Linked DNA regions of Homo sapiens: region 1 is linked to region 2. The links are contacts of gene promoters, found by promoter capture Hi-C in blood cells and fetal thymus (Javierre and others, 2016). All regions are on one chromosome and are shown on one strand. The core of a region is centred on a gene start or on the middle of the fragment in contact, and the rest is flanking DNA. Distances in the headings are between cores, read along the strand shown.

Region 1 (2,700 bases), core at 1-2,500, 6.4 Mb after region 2:
ACGGAGCCAATCACGGACGTCGTTTGTTTGCGGCTCCTCCCGGAAAAAGCCGATCAGCCTGAGAAACCAATTAGAAAGTGACGCTGGGAAGCCACGCCCAAAGAGCGGAAAATGCCGAAGGTAGCCGAACGGAAAGGGTGAATTCGCCTTGTTCGGTGGCTGGCTGGAGGAGACATTCGACAATGGCAACAGTGGCCAATCAGAGTCGCCGGCCCTTACGAAGAGGCTTGAAGAGTTGAGGACGGTGAAACCCAGAGACGCTGGTGAAACTGCACGGCTGGGCGCCGCCGCCGCTTTGTGATTGGCTGGAAAACTCCGCTGGGAGCGTACCTCCTTCGGTGATTGGTGAAGAGAAGGGGGCTTCCGAGGACAGTCTGGCCAGTCAGGACTTCCCCTCCCTCTCCAAGGTGGGGAGAAGAAAGCGAAGGGAGGGCGTCTATAAAGCGCTGTCTCATTGGCCTGAAGCTTAGGCGCTGGAGTTGGGGCAAAAGGGAGAGGGAGGGAGCCCGAAACTCGCGGCGGCGGCCAATCGGCTCTCACTGCCGTCCAATCGCAAGACCTAGCTGCAGTGTGATTGGCCTTCGGCCCCGGTCCCAGGAGCGGGGAGATGCCTGACTCGGGTCGTGGCTGACGACCCGACGGTTCGCCTGCGGCCGCCTCCAACAACGGTGGAAACCGCACACAGGGACCGCGGGCCCTCGGTGCAGCAAATCGGAAAGTGCTGCGGTCGGCGGCCCTGGGCTCTGAGCGCTCAAGCGAGCAGAGGGGTGGAGGGGCTCTCCCCACCCACAGGAGGCTCTCGGCGGGGCGCAGCCAATTCTGCGCGCCCAAGGCTCCCCTCTGCCGTGGATCGCGTGTGCCGAGTGTTGGCCTCTTCCCCGAAAGGGCCAGACGGACCAAGGGGGCCTTCCCAGCCGGCTGCAAGCTCTCAGACGCTAAAATGGGAACAAAGCTTCCAGAAAGGCAGCGCCTTTGGGCGGCCGCGCCCCGCCCAGCCGCGGGGGCCATTGATACAGAGGCTTGCTGCGCTTGGTGTGCGCGGCCCGGCCGGGCCTCTGGAAACGCCCATGAGAAATGAGCTCATGCTGGATGCGCGCGCTCCTTGGGCGCAACTGCCCAGCGCAAAACGGGCCCCGAAAGCAGGTGAGGGGAAATGCCGTCAGGCCGGATATCCTGAAGCCTCCGAGGAAATGGGGGGGTCAGAGGAGCCCGTGGTAGCTTTGGATCTTTTGGAACTAGGGTGATCTATAAAAGTGCAGCTTGAGAAGATTTCATACATAAGACCAGCGTCCATTGTTCTACCATAGAACCAGTTCCTTTGGTCTGCTTTAGAACAGTGAGGTATGGCTACGTCAAGATAACAGAGAAAGTAGAACAGACAGTTGCCATCCTGATTGTAATCCAGTGGTGCCTGTAATTTCTACCTGCAGAGTCATCTCTTTCTGTTAAGATGCTGTCTCCAGAAAGCACATGTTAAAGGACCTATATTTGATCAGATTACCTGGCTCTTGCTTTGAAACACTGATGAAGGACTTGGGACAGAACAAAGTAAGCTTTGATGGAAGACAGGAAAGGTCTAGATAGTGTTTGCAGATTCAAATGGCTACAGAGGCCAGACAAGTAAAGCAAATGAGTGAGACTGGCCTTGTGTAAGACAATGGGGAATGATAGGGAAAATGGCAAATTGGAATATCCATGCCATAACTAAAAGGAACAGCTGCTCAACTCTAGCAGATTGTTGCCCTCAGGAATGTGGGTCCAGTGTTCTCAGATGTTCAATTTTTTTCCTCCCAAAAGAAACCCCAAAATTGGATTTTTGTGTGAAATCTCTGCATTTTTAAATGTTGGTAACCAAATTTTCAAACCCTGCAGGCCAACCTAAAAACATCCCTTGGCCAATGAGGCATTGGAAAAAGTGTTAATAATTGTTAGGGGCCCGATAGCAGTAGGAGGGTGAAAACAAAATGGTTTGGGACCTTAAATAATTGAAATGTATCTTTATTTATTTATTTATTTTTGAGACGGAGTTTCACTCTTGTTGCCCAGGCTGGAGTGCAGTGGCGCGATCTCGGCTCACCGCAACCTCCGCCTCCCCGATTCAAGTGATTCTCCTGCCTCAGCCTCCCAAGTAGTTGGGATCACAGGCATGTGCCACCATGCCAGCTACTTTTGTATTTTTAGTAGAGACGGGGTTTCTTCATGTTGGTCAGGCTGGTCTCGAACTCCCGACCTCAGGTGATCTGCCTGCCTCAGCCTCACAGAGTGTCAGGATTACAGGCGTAAGCCACCACACCGGGCCGGTTGAAATTTATCTTTAAAATAGTGCACCTTTAATCCTTTTTTTATTTCTGTGTGTATCTTATAATGTGCATATCATGTTAGCTCAAGATCAAGAGTTTATGGACAAGCCAGGAGTGGTGGCTTATGACTGTAATCCCAGCAATTTGGGAGGCCGAGGCAGGTGGATCGCCTGAGGTTAGGAGTTCAAGACTAGCCTGGTCATCATGGTGAAACCCCGTCTCTACTAAAACTTTAAAACTTAGCTGGGCGTGGTGGCGGGCGTCTATAATACCAGTTACTTGGGAGGCTGAGGCAGGATAATTGCTTGAACCCAGGAGGTGGAGGTTGCAGTGAGCTGAGATCGCACCATTGCACTCCAGCCAAGGCAACAAGAGCAAAACTCCGTCTCAAAAAAAAAAA
Region 2 (2,700 bases), core at 77-2,576:
AGTTCTATGGGAGAGAAAAAAGTCATCAAGGTGAATGGAGAGTAGGACAGCCTGTTGATCCTTCAAAAGGCAGGTTTGTCTGTTTGGTTTTCTTTACAAAAGAGCAAACCTGGGAATATGTTTCAGGATCCATGTAACTCACCGTAAGATTTATTCAAGAAATCTGTACGTTGTTTATAGGTAAGGAAATGTCTTCTTTGCCTACACAGTTGGCCACGACTGTCTTGATCTGTGTGGTGTTAGGTTACTGTATCTACTTGATGGTAAAAATGTTACAAGAACGGAAGTTGAAATTCTGCACTTTGGTTTATGCAGTCTCATATTTCCAGATAAAGTTAATAAACGCAAAGGACCATATCCCAATGTAACGAGGAGGGTTGGGAGGACAAGCTTCAAGAACGAGTGGGGTGAATTCAACTATCAAAATTGTAAACATGAACAAGAGTCCAGGAATCTTATATTTCATCCGGATACATGAAAGTAGATTTCAAGAGTTGGTCATTCACTTGCACTGCTTCTACTCAGAAAGCAAAAGAACGGCTTCTAAAAAGAAAACACAAGCCTAACACTTCGACAGAGGGGTGAGAGGGAAAAAGCAAGCCACATGAGTCTGACGAACGGGTACGAAAGAAATTCAGAGGGCAAGGAAAGAAGGGGAATGAAGAAGACAGGAAAAGGTGAAGGAGGCGGGCAAAGGCCATCTGGTGTGAACCTGGCTGCCCAGCTCTTTATGCACCCAGGGCAGCGTGGGGCCCCTCTCGCCCCGCGCGCATCTAGGAGCTGGGGCGCAGTGCGAGCCCCCCACGGGCCTGGCAGCCGGGGACGCAGGGCGGGCGGGAGATGAGGGGTGCGCTCGCCGCGGGCGCTGACGCCCCACCAGGTGCCGCACGCAAGGGTCCCCAGGAAGGAGGCGCACTTAGCGCAGCCCTGGCCTCCCGGAGCAGGAAGGGGGTGGGTGGAGCTGAGCCCGGGGCCGCCCTCCGGAGCCGCCCCCGCAGCCCTGGCCCCCGCCCCCCGCCCCGGCTGTCAGCGGCCCCCTCCCGCAGTCACTTACCCGCCGGCTGCGCGGTCTCGGCCGCGGTGGCGGCGGCGACGGCGGCGACCCCCGCCTGGGTCATGATCCCAGGAGGGGAAGGCAGGAGTGTCTGACCGTCTGGGCGAATCTCTCCGTCCGCGGCCACCGCCTGCTCCTCCGGGGCTGGGGGAGCGCGGGCCCAGGCCCTCCTCTCCCCCCGCCCCCGCCGCCTCTTTTTGCGGCCACCGCAGCCGCTGCGAGCCCGAGCCCTCAAGGCCGGAGACCCGGCGGCAGCGCGGCCTCAACTTTCCCAGCCCCCCTCCCCCCGCCCCTCCCCGCCCCTCCCGCGGCCGCAGCTCAGCAAGCGAACAGCCTACCCTGGGCGCGCCGCGTTCCCGCCTCTTTCACTCAACCCGCCAATCAGGCTGCGGGAACGCTGCCGTGGTAGCCAATAAGAAGACAGAATGCCGTTGCACTACGCTAGAGGGCGGGAGGAGGCGGAGAGGAAACCAAGGAGTGAACGGGGATCGGGCGGCCCAATGAGGAGGGCCGGGGGGCGGAGGTGTGCAAGTTGGGTTGAAGAAACAGGAAATATTCTTAAAGGTAGAGTGACGGACAGGAAGGAAAGCCAGTAGGTGAATGGGAAAGAGGTGGGCCTGGTTCCTTAAAGGGGACGCCTTGAGAACCTAGAAAAGAAGGTGTTTTAAGAAACTTCTTTGTATCTTCTTCTGTGGTCTCTTTTCTTCGTCTTTCGGTAGGAGTTTGGAAGTGGAAAAATTGAAAAGGAAGAGGGCACGGAAGTCTTTCGGAATAGTTAGCCCCTCTTAACGTGGAGGGCAGGAAGGTGAGAAGATACGTCTTAGTAAATGTGGAGAAGAAAGAATCAGACGTTTCCGACTTCTCGATAACTGGAAGATTGTTGCTGACTTGACGCTGCTCGCATTCGTAGGCTGTGGTCTCTTGTCATCCTTTATTTGCAACAACACACAGATTTCTGTGAATTGGAGATGGCCATGTTCAGAAATGCCCTGGGGGCCTCCCAGCTGGGACAAGGGAGTTTGGCATTGGGGGATGGGGTTTGAGATCTCAAGCCTGGGTTACTAAATACCTGGATCTAGGAGAGGTAGGGCCAGGGGTCACGAAATGGAGACCTGAGTGCCCCTTAACTCCAGGATCTGTGTGGAGCCCTTGGAACCGTGATCACAACTCCCTCTTCCTAGTTTCGCTTCATATTTTATAACCTCCTGCTGAAACAGGTGTCCTCCACCTAGTTGCGGTTATAGATTTCCAAGCCCTTCCACAACCAGATTTGGAAATATCCCAGATCTTAGATGTCCGTGGGCTAACTTCCAGAAGGTGCACACAGGGCATGGCATAATGGGAATTACTTGAGCCTGTATACAGAAGCAGCAGACATCGCATTGAGCAAAAGGGTAAAGGCTAACAGTAACGGAGTCTTATGTTTGTACAGCAGATTGAAAAGCTATGATGAAACGGAAGGCCTGTAATGTTGCTTATAAACTGTGGTACTAATAAACAGGCTAGAAATTTTCTTTAACTCATCCATCTAGGCACACGAAGTTCTAATTAGCCTTTGAACAGACTTGGCACATCCAAATCAAAACTGCAGATAAGAAAGATTCTACGAGTCAGAGCCATAATAGCAATGCTAATAACATCACCAT

Evidence for each region. Contacts are between HindIII fragments. The CHiCAGO score rates a contact against its expected background, and 5 or more counts as called.
Region 1: a fragment that was not itself captured here is called in contact with the fragment with the promoter of USF3 in region 2 in 1 of 17 cell types (fetal thymus); the score reaches 6.7 in fetal thymus.

The regions. Positions count from the first base shown.
Region 1 is chr3:120,094,636-120,097,335 of GRCh38, forward strand. It overlaps GSK3B-DT (GSK3B divergent transcript), which reads left to right and starts at 469. Exons shown (of 3, transcript NR_186629.1): 1 at 469-1,143. RefSeq lists enhancers at 1-400, 27-321, 601-920. The HindIII fragment of the contact is 601 bases long and covers 951-1,551 here.
Region 2 is chr3:113,695,316-113,698,015 of GRCh38, forward strand. It overlaps USF3 (upstream transcription factor family member 3), which reads right to left and starts at 1,327. Exons shown (of 7, transcript NM_001009899.4): 1 at 1,055-1,327. RefSeq lists silencers at 658-1,047, 1,068-1,537. The HindIII fragment of the contact is 8,785 bases long and covers 389-2,700 here.